3 separate regions of the Homo sapiens genome follow, and all the other regions are linked to region 1. The links are contacts of gene promoters, found by promoter capture Hi-C in human tissues and cell types (Jung and others, 2019). All regions are on one chromosome and are shown on one strand. Each heading gives the region's core, a stretch centred on a gene start or on the middle of the fragment in contact. The rest is flanking DNA. Distances are from core to core; before and after follow the strand shown. Region 1 holds the start of POLR1E (RNA polymerase I subunit E). Region 2 has its middle 12 kb from the start of SHB. Region 3 has its middle 110 kb from the start of SHB.

The links. Contacts are between HindIII fragments. The study calls those that stand out against the background at their distance.
Region 2: a fragment that was not itself captured here is called in contact with the fragment with the promoter of POLR1E in region 1 in 1 of the 25 tissues and cell types used here (lymphoblastoid cells).
Region 3: a fragment that was not itself captured here is called in contact with the fragment with the promoter of POLR1E in region 1 in 1 of the 25 tissues and cell types used here (dorsolateral prefrontal cortex).

Annotation. Positions count from the first base shown.
Region 1 is chr9:37,483,349-37,487,449 of GRCh38, forward strand. It overlaps POLR1E (RNA polymerase I subunit E), which reads left to right and starts at 2,600. Exons shown (of 12, transcript NM_022490.4): 1 at 2,600-2,775; 2 at 3,355-3,458. The coding sequence starts at 2,700. RefSeq lists an enhancer at 2,065-2,656 and a silencer at 2,398-2,727. The HindIII fragment of the contact is 4,331 bases long and covers 1-3,900 here.
Region 2 is chr9:38,079,297-38,083,455 of GRCh38, forward strand. No RefSeq gene overlaps it. Among named protein-coding and RNA genes, the nearest start is that of SHB, 12 kb to the left of the region's middle. The HindIII fragment of the contact is 6,447 bases long and covers 1-4,159 here.
Region 3 is chr9:38,173,474-38,177,641 of GRCh38, forward strand. No RefSeq gene overlaps it. Among named protein-coding and RNA genes, the nearest start is that of SHB, 110 kb to the left of the region's middle. The HindIII fragment of the contact is 4,381 bases long and covers 583-4,168 here.

The DNA.
Region 1 (4,101 bases), core at 1,350-3,849:
TCCTCGCTACAAAACAGTCAATCCAGGGGACTTGCACATAATCTGTCTGACTGGCAAATATGTGCCTTAAAGGGGAATCAGTCCGGTATAACAGTGATTCCTAAACTTCAAGTGCACATGAATCACCTGCAGATCCTGTTGCAGAAGATTTGATAGGGTTGGAGATCCTATATTTCTAACAAGTTCCCAGGTGCTGTCGAGGCTGCTGTTTCCATGGACCACACTTTGAGTAACAAGGCCATACAATGTGTTCCTATATCATGAGTAACAAGGCCATATAATGTGTTCCTATATCACAAGATACTTCTCTTAAGAACTATACTTGGCTCATTGTAGCCACTGTTATCTTGGTCACCTTTAACTTTGATTTAACTGTTCATATTTTCATTCAACCAAAAAACATTTATAGAGTCTGTTATGTGTAAACCCTATGCTAGTTGATTTCAACCAATATTACCAAACATCTTTGAGTTCCAGTCCCTGTGCTAGGCTTCCAAGATTAGTGATAATTCAGGCCCATTCTTTGCCCTGTCATTCATTAATTCATTCCATATTTATTGAGGGTCTAGTATGTTCAGGATTTGGAGATAAAGCAGTGATCAAAACAAACATAAATTTGTTTATTAACCTCCAAAGTGTTTATTGTGAACCCCAAGTAAGTTTAGTGAGGAAACAATCAATGGGTGAGACAATCACACAATTAAGCTCTTCTTTCTTCATCCTTCTTTCTTCTTTCTTCTTCTTCCCTTTTCCTTTCCTGAACAATTCAATCCAAAATCATGAGGTGGGGTCAAGCAAGGTAGCCTTCTAAGGGAGGAAAGGCTATGAGAGCTAAATGCAACACATGATTCTTGACAGGACATTTTTGCTATAAAAACATGATTGGGCCAGCTGCAATGGCTCACGCCTGTAATCCCAGAACTTTGGGAGGCCAAGGTGGGAGGATCACTTGAGCCCAGGAGTCTGAGACCAGCCCTGGCAACACAGTGAGACCTAGTCTCTACAAAAAATTTTTTTAATTAAGAAAAAACAAAACAAAACTGAGTGTGGTGGCACACACTTGTATTCCCAGGTTGTGGTGAGAGGATCACTTGAGCCTGGAAGGTCAAGGCTGCAGTGAGCCCTGGTTGCAACACTGCACTCCAGCCTGGGTGACAGAGTGAGACCCTGTCTCAAAAAACAAACTAACAACAAACGTTGGGACAATGGGTGAACTTAAATGGGATGTGAGGATTACATGGTGGTAATGTACCAGTGCTAATTTCCTGATTCTTTTCTGTTTAATTTTTTTTTTTTTTTTTGTCGCCCAGGCTAGAGTGCAGTGGCACCATCACAGCTCACTGCAGCCTCTGCCTCCTAGGCTCAAGCAATCCTCCCACCTCAGCCTCCCGAGTAGCTGGGACGACACGCGTGCGCCACCACACATGGCTAATATTATTTTTTGTAGAGACAGGGTCTTGTTATGTTGCCCAGCCTGGTCTCAAACTCCTGGAATCAAGGGATAGAACTGCCTCTCCCTCCCAAAGTGCTGGGATTGCAGGCGTGAACCACTGCGCCCGGCAATTTGCTGATTCTGATGGCTGTGTTGTTATTTAGGGAATGTCTGTAGGAAATACTATAGTCTTCAGGGTTGAAAGGGTATCAGGTTGACAACTTACTCTAAATGGTTCAGGGCAAAAACATTTCTTGCAGTGTTTCTTTACGTTTGAGATTGGGTAATTAGAAAAGCGTGACAAGTGCTCAGGCAAAGGGGCATGCAGGCTTTAGGGTTATTCCTAGGATCCTGGGTGTTGGAGGCGGGTGTTGAGGGTGTGTGGAAGGAAAAGAGTCTTGAAAGAAGGTGATTTGGAAGACAGAGGGGAGTCAACCGGAGTTCTTGCCCTTCAATAGTACGCATCTTTGGGCAAAGGGGGCCTCGGCCAGCGTCCATGCTTAAAGGCCCTGCTTTCGCCTTCTTTCTGCTCTGAAAACTCCCCGTGCAGAAGAAGGGTTGAATCCGCAGTGAAAAAGGGACATGTCCATCAGCTCGGACTCCCTCTTCTATTCCAGTCCAGAATCTCCTGCCCAAAGGCTCCGGGGTTGGCTGGGCTTCTGTTCCATCACCTCAGTGTTGATTGGGCCACAGGTGTGCACGCCACAGCCCATGGCGGGGAGCTGTTTGTCGGACTGTGGACAAAGTTTGTACCTAGAGCTGGATGTCCACGTGGGTGGGTGGGAAGCCCTAGAGAGGGGCGGCTATTCGCCAGCGGCCACATTTAGTTGGGGCTCAAGCAGTTCCTGTCAGAGAATTCTAAATTTGAACTTGGTCCTTCAGGTCTTGGGAAGATGAGTTTGTCACGGTAGGAGAGAGAGACGACACTCTCTTTAGAAGGTGCTGAGCCGGAAGAAGGCTCATAGCAAGCTTAGGCTGAAGCCTTTGGCGCCTCGGGCTCTGGACCTACAAAACCCAGAGTGCACGCGAGCGCTGAGCCAATCAGGTGCTGCGCCTCGGCCAGTCAAGCGGGTGTGTGGCACCTTGTGGGCGGAGACCACGCCTCTCTACGCGGGGGGCGGGGACACGCGGCTCGCGCGCTGTGGGCGGTGCCCGGCGGGGCCACGCCTTTTCCGGCCCGCAGCGCGGCCTGGGCTCCCGCGTGTTTAAAAGTGCGCTTGTGGCTGCTGCTGTCTTAACTCCTGTGCTTGGCGGACAGACAGGCGAGATGGCGGCGGAGGTGTTGCCGAGTGCGAGGTGGCAGTATTGTGGGGCGCCCGACGGGAGCCAGAGAGCTGTACTGGGTAAAGACTGCGGAGCTGGAGCAGTGCTCCTCTAACCCTCTCCCCTTCCGTCTCGGTACCTCAGCTGTCCTCTCGCCCTCCGTTGGGCTTCTCCCCAGCGGGGCCGGGACCCCTCTAGTCTCCACCACTCCCCTGGGCTCTGTCAGGGCTCCCCTGTCCGTCTTTCTGTCACTACCTCCCAGCCAGATTGGGACATCCCACTCACCCGCTCCCCAGAGCTGTGTCCAGGACCCTGCTGACCCCCTCACCCACCAGGTCTCCCGCCTCCCCCATTTCCCTCTCTTCACTGGGCAGGGGTTCCTTCTGTCACTTTAGGTATGTACCAGGCCTCTGCTGTCAGCCTCCTTCCGCGAGACATTCCCTCCTGTCACAGCCCCTCCCCAGGGTTCTCCCACCTCCCTACCTCCTCTTCTCAGCTGGCCCCGGATCTCCTCCAGTTCCCTTTGGGTCAGGACCCGAGCTTCCTTGCCATCCCCATTCTGACACTCCCTCCCAGTGACAGTCTAGTCCCACCGTACATTGTGTGGTACATTGTGTGGCCTTCTGCTCTCATCTCATTCTTGGGCTGCACTCTTACAGTCCAGTTCTCCAACGGGAAGCTACAGAGTCCAGGCAACATGCGCTTTACCTTGTATGAGAACAAAGATTCCACCAACCCCAGGAAGAGGAATCAACGGATCCTGGTAAGTGAAGCAGTTGCCAGCTGTCTCCACTCTGCAGGGCTCAGAAGGCCCCTGGGAGTGGGTGGATGTGGGAGGGAGTGAGGGGAGAAAAAGGGGAGTAGTAGCAAATGGAGCTTTGAAGAACTCTGATGCCCAGCAGCCTGGGATGTGGGGACAGGCTCCATCTTTCATTCATTTGTTCTTTCAACAAGCATTTATGGAACCTGCCCCTCTGCATCCCTGTGCTGCAAGCTTCTAGGAAAACAGCCAAATCAGGCCTAGCCCCACTCAGAGTTCATACTCTAGAGCAGGGTTTCTCAACCTCAGGACTATTGACTTTTTGGGCCAATAATTCTTTGCTGTGGGGGCAGCATCCCTAGTCTCTACTCATTAGATGCCAGTAGCACCAGAGTGGATTTCCCTGGATTGAGAACCTCTGCTCTAGAGAGATGAGAACTGGCTGTGAGGGACACTTTTACACAAAGCTCTGAGGCCACGTGGGGAAGAGTACAGGGCAGAGTGAGCTCAGTGGGAGGAGAGGTCTCTGCCAGAATGCCTTCCTTGGTGAGGTCATGTTGGAGCTGAGCCTTGAAGGCTGGAATGAGGGTTTGGCAGTCAACGTTTGGTGTTTCGAGTGAAAAGGATAGTGAGGACAAATGCAGAG
Region 2 (4,159 bases), core at 475-2,974, 600 kb after region 1:
AATTTTCCCAATATCATTTATTGAAAAGACTGTCCTTTCCCCATTGTGTGTTCTTGGTGCCCATGTTGAAAATTAGTTGACCATATATACTCGGGTTTATTTCTGGGCTCTATTCTTTCCGTTGGTCTATATGTCTGTTTTTATGCCAGAGCCATACTGTGTTGACTTGCTGTACTTTTGAAGCACATGCATTCTGGGGTTCTGTTCCCAGATCTCTTAAATTGAGGAAGCAGAACATGACTCATCCCTGCCTTCCTGGCATCCGGAGGGGGCTCCAGGAAAGTTGTGGCATCCAGTTAGCCGCTTCCACGTGAGTCCCAGTCCTGCTGACATGTAAGCCTGTCCCCAGTGTCGCTGAGCCAGCTGCTGTTCTCTCCACATCAGGTACAACTAATCTTAGGAATCTCATTACGGGTCGAGAAATAATCCTCTATATCTAGATTAAAGTCTGTGTTTTGACCATTACCGCGCACTGAGCATTGAGCCAACAGTTTAATTGAGCTGTTTATGCCGCTGCCTTGATCTCTTCCCAGAGAATTTACAGCTAATTCCAAGTGTCTCTGTGAATTAAGTGGGCCTCTCCCAACATGCTTTGCCCGGTGTTTGCCTGTTTCAAATCCCACTTGTCCTTGTGTTACCCAATGATGGGCTCTCACTCACAGCTGTCTCTGACCCTGCCGCTTACAGCCCACTTCCTCCCTGAGGTGGCCATTAATGATATGGTCCCAGAATGGCCATAACCCAGGATAGCTTCTGTTAATACCTACAGCAATAGAAAGGGGGGTGGAGGTGAGGATGGGGTGGAGCAGAGAGGTCATAAATTATGACCTCAGTGACCCCTTTGAAATCACCTCCAGGTGACTAACAGTCACCTCTAGCAAGAGGGTACATGCCTTTAGCGAAGTTAAGTGTAATGGAAGCAAAGAGTTCCAGTCTGGGGTCAAGACTCCTGAGTTCTTACCTGACATCCTCTGTGATCTCTGGGGCTACAGTTTCCCTGTTTGCAAAACGGGAGCTGGCAGATCATTGTTTTCCATTCAGGATAGTAGAGGTGTCTTAGGATAGGGCTGCCATATTTAGAAAAAACAAAACAGGCTGGGCATGGTGGCTCATGCCTAGCACTTTGGAAAGCCAGGGCAAAGAGGATTGCTTGAGCCCAGCAATTGGAGACCACCCTGGGCAACATAGTGAGACCTGGTCTCTACAAAAAAATAAAATTATGCTGGGTGCTCATGCCTGTAATCCCAGCACTTTGGGAATCTGAGGCAGGCAGATTGTTTGAGGTCAGGAGTTCAAGACCAGCCTGTCCAACATGGTGAAATCCTGTCTTTACAAAAAAAAACACAAAAATAAGCCAGGCGTGGTGGTGGGTATCTGTAACCCCAGCTACTTGGGAGGCTGAGGCAGGAGAATCGCTTGAACCCAGAGGTGGAGGTTGCAGTGAGCCAAGATCGCACCATGCACTCTGTCCTGGGTGACGACAGAGCAAGACTCCTAAAAAAAAAAAAATAAATAAATAAAAAAATTAGCTGGACATGGTTGTGCAAGCCTGTAGTCCCAGCTATTCAAGAGGCTGAGATGGGAGGATCACTTGAGCCTGGGAGGTTGAGGCTGCAGTGAGACATGATTGTGCCACTGCACTCTAGCTTGGGTGACAGAGGGAGACTCTGTCTCAAAAACAACAACAAAGGACATCCATGCAATAGTTGGGACATACTTATAGCTAATTCTTATTTATTTACCAGAAATCCAAGTATAACTGAATGCTGTATATTTTCTCTGGTGACCTTACTCAAGGGGCTGTGTACGCAGGGCCCTGATCTACAGGTGGGTGCTAAGAGAGCAAATGAGTTGAATTGCTTTGTAGCGATGCATCTTAATGGTCAAACTGCCTGCATCTGGCAAGTGCAGCATAGATTATGGAGGCTGCAAATCCACTGAGTGCAGTGGCTTTTTCAGTCCCAAACTTCAGACTGATAGCCGTCTTGAAGGCCACCACTGGAACCTGGGGCTTATTGGCAATAGGTCAAGTTAGGCCCATAAGAGTCAGAAGTACACAGGGGCATGTAGGGGCAGAAAGGTCTGGGTCAGAGAGCCTGAAGGTCTGGCAGAAGGATCTGTGGAGCTTGTAGGCAAGGAGGAAGTGAACGTGGGGAGAAAGGAAATCAGGCCTGGTCAGAGGACATCACAGGTCAGCCAGGTGCCAAGGAGTCCCCGTGTTCTAAGGGTGCCGGCAGAGAGAGAATATCTGCGGATATCTGCAGGGCTGGGTGGGCGGTCAGACCTTGAGGCTGTGCTTGCTTTGCTTCAGAAGCAAGTGGTGATCAAGAACACAGCAGTGTTTTTCTGCAACTGAGGAGGACTTAAATACTACGTGCCCACCAGCACCTTTAGGTTTTCTTCTATGGGGGATTAGCTTTGGGATTACCAGGTGCCCAGGATGTGTGATCCTCCTCTTCTTGAGAGAGGTCTGGAGACCAGGCAGCAGGGGCTGTGCATTATTTACTTCTGCCCACCCTGGTGGGTGGCCGAGTGCCTGCCAAGTGTTAGCCCCAGTGACTGTGTATGGGATTGAATCCAACAGACATTCACTGAGTCACAGTTCTTAAATCTCAGTTATTACCTCCGGCCTTAAACCACACCACCATGTGTAAAAGGGCACCTTTATCTTTGTAGAATCATTGCAGACTCTCCTCCTGCTGGCTGTGTCCATCTCTCCCTCCCTTCCACATCTTCCTGCAGAGCATCCTGTCTGTGCACAGAAGTCCAGATGTTAGACCCACCCAGCTCCTGGACCTGGGCTTTGTATACTGACGGTAACAATTGAAACAAAAGACATACCAGGCACTGTGGCTCACGCCTATAATCCTAGCAGTTTGGGAGGCCAAGGTGGGTGGATTGCTTGAGTCCGGGAGTTCGAGACCAGCCTGGGCAGCATGGCAAAACCCCATCTCTACAAAAAATACAAAATAAAATATTAGCCAGGCATGGTGACGTGTGCCTGTGGTCCCAGCTACTTGGGAGGCTGAGGTGGGAGGATTGCTTGAGCCCAGGAGGTCGAGGCTGCTGTGAGCCATGATTGTGCCACTGCACTCCAGCCTGGCCTGGGTGACAGAGTGAGACCCTGTCTCAAAAAAAAAAGGACATAAAGGCATTAAACATTGAAACCACCAAGATTAAATTTACCTGGGTTTACTTGTGAGTGACTTTATGTGCTAGGGTGCCAGGAAAACACCCTAAATCTGAAGAGTTTAATCCAATTTTCCTCTTTGTCAAACTAAACTTGGGTGTTCCTGAAAAGATGAAATATTACTTGAAGCCCTGCAGTTGGGAAAGTGGTTGATTTCTTCAGTGTTAAACCACACCAAAAAATGTTCTGATGCAATTTCCAGCCTCTCACTTTGGCTGTAATATTTAAAGGCAATTTTTAAAAGTCACTTTCCATGCATAATTTTCTCCCACTACACTTTGTTATTTTTTTTTCTCGAATTGAAATGGTTACCATGCTGCCATCTGAGGCTTTGCTAAGTGGGATGCATTGGTCTTTGCCAGAGCCAAGAAAGAGTTAAAGTTGCAAATGGCCGTCTGTCATCTTTCTCAGTCTGGGGATGGGGGTGGATATCGCCCAATTGTCTGTCCTTTTCTTCCCCTCCCTAGGGCTGAGTGCGGGATATCAAGTCTCCTAAAATAGCTCAGACCCTGTGGGGAGATGCCTGCCCTGAGCAGGAGCTAGCTTGGCATGGAGGATTCTCAGAGTTGGAAGGGAATGTTCCTGGCCAAATGGTCTGATCTCTTGGGCTGGAAGAGAGAGGAAGGAGCTCAGTAACCTTCCAAACCAAACATCCACTAACAAGCTCTTTCAGGGCCCTCAGGGAACCCAGATGACTGCTGTCATCTTCCTTCACCTAAGTGGCATCCGACAGAGCATCCACCCCCACAGAGTCCTCTGAGGCTGCTGGGCACAGTGCAGAGAGGCACTGGCAGATCTGGAGCAGAATCTAAGTGAGCATCTCCTCATTAGGATTTCTGGATCTCTTAGGATTTACAAGATACTATAGAATCATTGCGTATTGCAAATGTCTGAAGGAGAGAACTGTTGGTTTTTGTGGTTTTCCAGAGTCGTGGTGGGTGGAGGGGCTTCTTCTGCCCAGGCCTTCGA
Region 3 (4,168 bases), core at 1,523-4,022, 690 kb after region 1:
GTCAAGGTCGAGAAATCTCATCAAAAATGCAGAGAAAAAGATACAGAAATTAAAAAGGCAGGAGGAAAGTTTATATATATGGAGACCAGGGAGCACAGAAGCACCAAGCAGACATTTGGTGATCCTGAGGGGTGAGACCAGAGAGAAGCCATCATCCAACAGATAAGGGACCACCATGCACACCCTGAGTGTGTAGCTCACTAGAGATTGATATATCCCAGGACAAAATGGCTGGAAATGGACCTCTAGCTAGACACCCTGCAAAAATGTTTGAAGAATCAGGATTTTTAAAAGCCTACAAGTATATACACAGAATAAAGAGGAAATCTACTGAGGAAGGAAAATCAGACTGGCTTCAAGCTCTTAGTGCCCTCAATTTGGATAAAGAACGTCTACAGAGTTTTCAGAAGAACAGAGAAAAAGATTGTGATTCAGTAATTTGATGTCCAGCCAAGGTACTTACAGTGTTTGAAGTCTTAGGAAAGATACCTTCAAATATGCAAGGGTTTAAGAAATATGCCACACTGAGCCCTTTTTAAATAAGGAACTCTGAGAAGTATTTAAAATTGTCAAGAGATGAAACACATTTAAGAATCAAGAATAGGGAAGCCATGAAATGAAATGACAGGGTGCAAATGCCTGCTAAACAGAGAAAAGTCTAAAGAATTTAAAAAGTGGCTCAAAATTTGAAAAGTTAGAAATATTCTCAAGAAGAAGCAAAGAGAACTTGGGAAGTATTGATGTACTCTTGATTAATAGTTAGAAAAAATTTGTGAGTTAAAGAATACTTTTGAAAAGTTAAAATAACTGGCCGGGTGTGGTGGCTCACGCCTGTAATCCCAGCACTTCGGGAGGCCAAGGCGGGTAGATCATGAGATCAGGAGATTGAGACCATCCTGGCTAACACGGTGAAACCCCATTTCTACTAAAAGTACAAAAAATTAGCCAGGCGCGGTGGCGGGCACCTGTAGTTCCAGCTACTCGGGAGGCTAAGGCAGGAGAATGGCGTGAACCCAGGAGGCGGAGCTTGCAGTGAGCCGAGATTGCGCCGCTGCACTCCAGCCTGGGCAACAGAGCGAGACTCCATCTCAAAAAAAAAGAAAAAGAAAAGTTAAAATAACTATTTGTAGAATTCTAGACAGATAATGTGCCATGTATAAATACACATAATATAAAATGAATTACAATAAATAGTATATAATTATATAACATATGCAATATGTATACACACATGCACACACAGAGGAAAAGATAAAATGCCAAGAATACGTGGTCACCATACCAAACAGCAAGCACTGGAAGAAGCAAGAAAGCATTAAAATAATTTTTGGGTAATAGATATAATACTAATAATCTATTTCAACAATGAGTGTAAATGGGCTATATTCCTTTATTTTATGACAAAAACTCTCAAATTGTATGCTTCCTATAAGAGAGGCTTTCAAAATAAAGTAAAACAGTAATGCAAAAAGCAAATAGGATCCAGCAATTCCTCTCCTAGGTGTGTACCCAAAGCTATTGAAAGCAGGGACTCAAACAAATACTCGTACATCAATGTTCATTGCTGCATTATTCACAGTAGACAAAAGGTGGAAGTGATCCAAGTGTTCATCAGCAGGTTGCTGAGTAAACAAAATGTGTTATATATGTACTAGAGAATATTATTCAGCCACGAAAAGGAATGAAGTTGTGATACATGCTAAAACACAGATGAACCTTGAAGACAGGCTAAGTGAAATGAAGTAAGTCAGACACAAAAGGACGGATACTGAGGTGCCTAGAATAGGCAAATTCACAGACAGAAAGTAATTAGAAATGACCAGAGGCTGGAGAGAGGGGAAATGAGGAGCTATTGCTTAATGGTTAGAGCTTCTGTTTGGGAGAATGAAGTTTTTGAAATAGTTGTAATAGTTGCAGAACACTGTGAATGTAATTAATGCCACTGAATTGTAGGCCTAAAAATGGTTAAAATGGTATATTTTCCCCCAATAAAAAATATATATGAAAGTAAATGACAGGCAAGGTTACATCAAGCACATACAAACATAAAGACAGCAGGAGCCCTAATATTAATTTCAGGCTAAGCAGGATTCAAAACCAAACAGATTCAATGCAACAAAGAGGTTTTATTATTTATTTATTTATTTATTTATTTATTTATTTATTTATTTTTAAGCGATGAGGTTCTCGCTATGTTGCTCGGGCTGGTCTCCAACTCCTAGCCTCAAGCAATCTTTCTGCCTTTATCTCCCAAAGTGCTGGGATTGCAGGCATGAGACACCATACCCTGGCCTTAAAGAGCTTTTATTTCAATAAAGGGTACAGTTATTTTGAATATATAACAATTATAAATCTTTATGCAATAAGTAACATAGCATCAAAATATATAAAACACATATACACATACATACACACCTCATTATCATTATCTAGGAAAAAAATAACAAGCTTGCCTAATTAAGTAAGAGACATTTTCCCTTTTCCATCTTCCCTCTCTTTGCCCCAGCAAGAGAGAGGAAGCACAGGGTAGAACTGAGGGGATTGTGAGGAGCAGACCCTCCCTACTAGTCCTCCATACCCACTGAAATCAGGAAATTTTCATCAATAGTTTATTACCATCTAATCCTCAGATTTTATTTGCATTTTGCCAAATGTCCCAATAATATTCCTTATGCCAAATGTCCCAATAATGTTCTTTACATCAAAAAGAATCAGTTCAGAATGATGTGTTGCCTTTAGTGATTAGCTTCTTGTCTCTACAGACTCCTTCACTTTGGAACACTTTCTTCATCTTTCTTTGACTCTCATGACATTGACACTTTTGAAGATTACAACCCATTTATTTTGTTTAATATCCTTTAATTTGGGCCTGTCTGACTTTCCTTAAAGTTAGATTCAAGTTATGTGTCTTAACTAGGAACAACACAGAAGTGATGCTTCTGTGACCTTCTCATTGCAATCTTGCAGGTGGCTCAGGATGCTGATTCATCCCATTGCTCATAATGTTCATGTTGATAACCTAAGTTGATAAACAAACCTTGTATCTGCCAGGGTTCTTCATTATAGTTTTACTCTTTTCCTCTATGTAATTAATAAGTACTTCGTGAAGAGATATTTTGAGAGTGTGTATCCCATGCTTCATTAAACTTTTATTCATTTATTTATGTCAGATAGTCTTATGATTTCCTGTTCTATTCAATAAGTTATCGTTTGTTACTATCACTATTTATCTTAGTGCCCAAATTGCCTCTGATTTGGTGTTTGGTAGCCCCTTTAAGCTGATTCATTTTGACATGTTTCTATCATTCTTTAAGCTACCTTGCTTTCTAGAATGATAGTATATTCCAGGATATCTTGCACTTTCTCTATCTAAACTCTGGAGTCAGCCATTTCTCCAGGGAACTCTTGTTCCTTTTAATGGAGAATGTTATTTAGAAGCCAAGACCTGAACACTAGGTGTGCTCATTGCTACTGGGGTATCACTACCCCAGGCCCTTTCAGTGGACATTAAGTTGATAAGCCTGCTGTTTGCCAGGATTCTCCATTGTAGTTTTATGCTCTTCCTCTGAAGATGTGTGTATACATATATCCCCATATATATATATATATATATATATATATATATATATATATATACATTTACATCTATATTTCTATATCTGTCTCCATATTTTGAAATCAGTGAGCTCACACCAACAGCCCCAATTCTAGTCCAATATCACTGGATTCATTCTAGTTCTCTTATTTTCTACATGTTATAACTCCCTTCCCTGAAAGTGAGAAATATCATTCACATTATCCCTAATACAGTCATCCCTCAGTATTTGTGGGGTATTGGTTCCAGGACCCCCCACGGATGTTCAAGTTCCTTATCTAATATGGTATAATATTTACGTAGAACCTATGCACATCTTCTCATATGCCTTCAGTCATCTCTAGCTTACTTATAATATTGAATACAATGCAAATGCTATGTAAATACCTGTTATACTGTATTGTCTTTTAATTTATTTTTTAATTATTGTAATTTTTTTTTCCCTGAATATTTTTGATCCAGTTGGTTGAACCCATGGATGCAGAACCCATGAATACAGAGGGCTGACTGCCTATTTACTTATTTGATCAATTCCCTTTATGTAATCAACCTCCAACTGCACCTTCTTCCCTG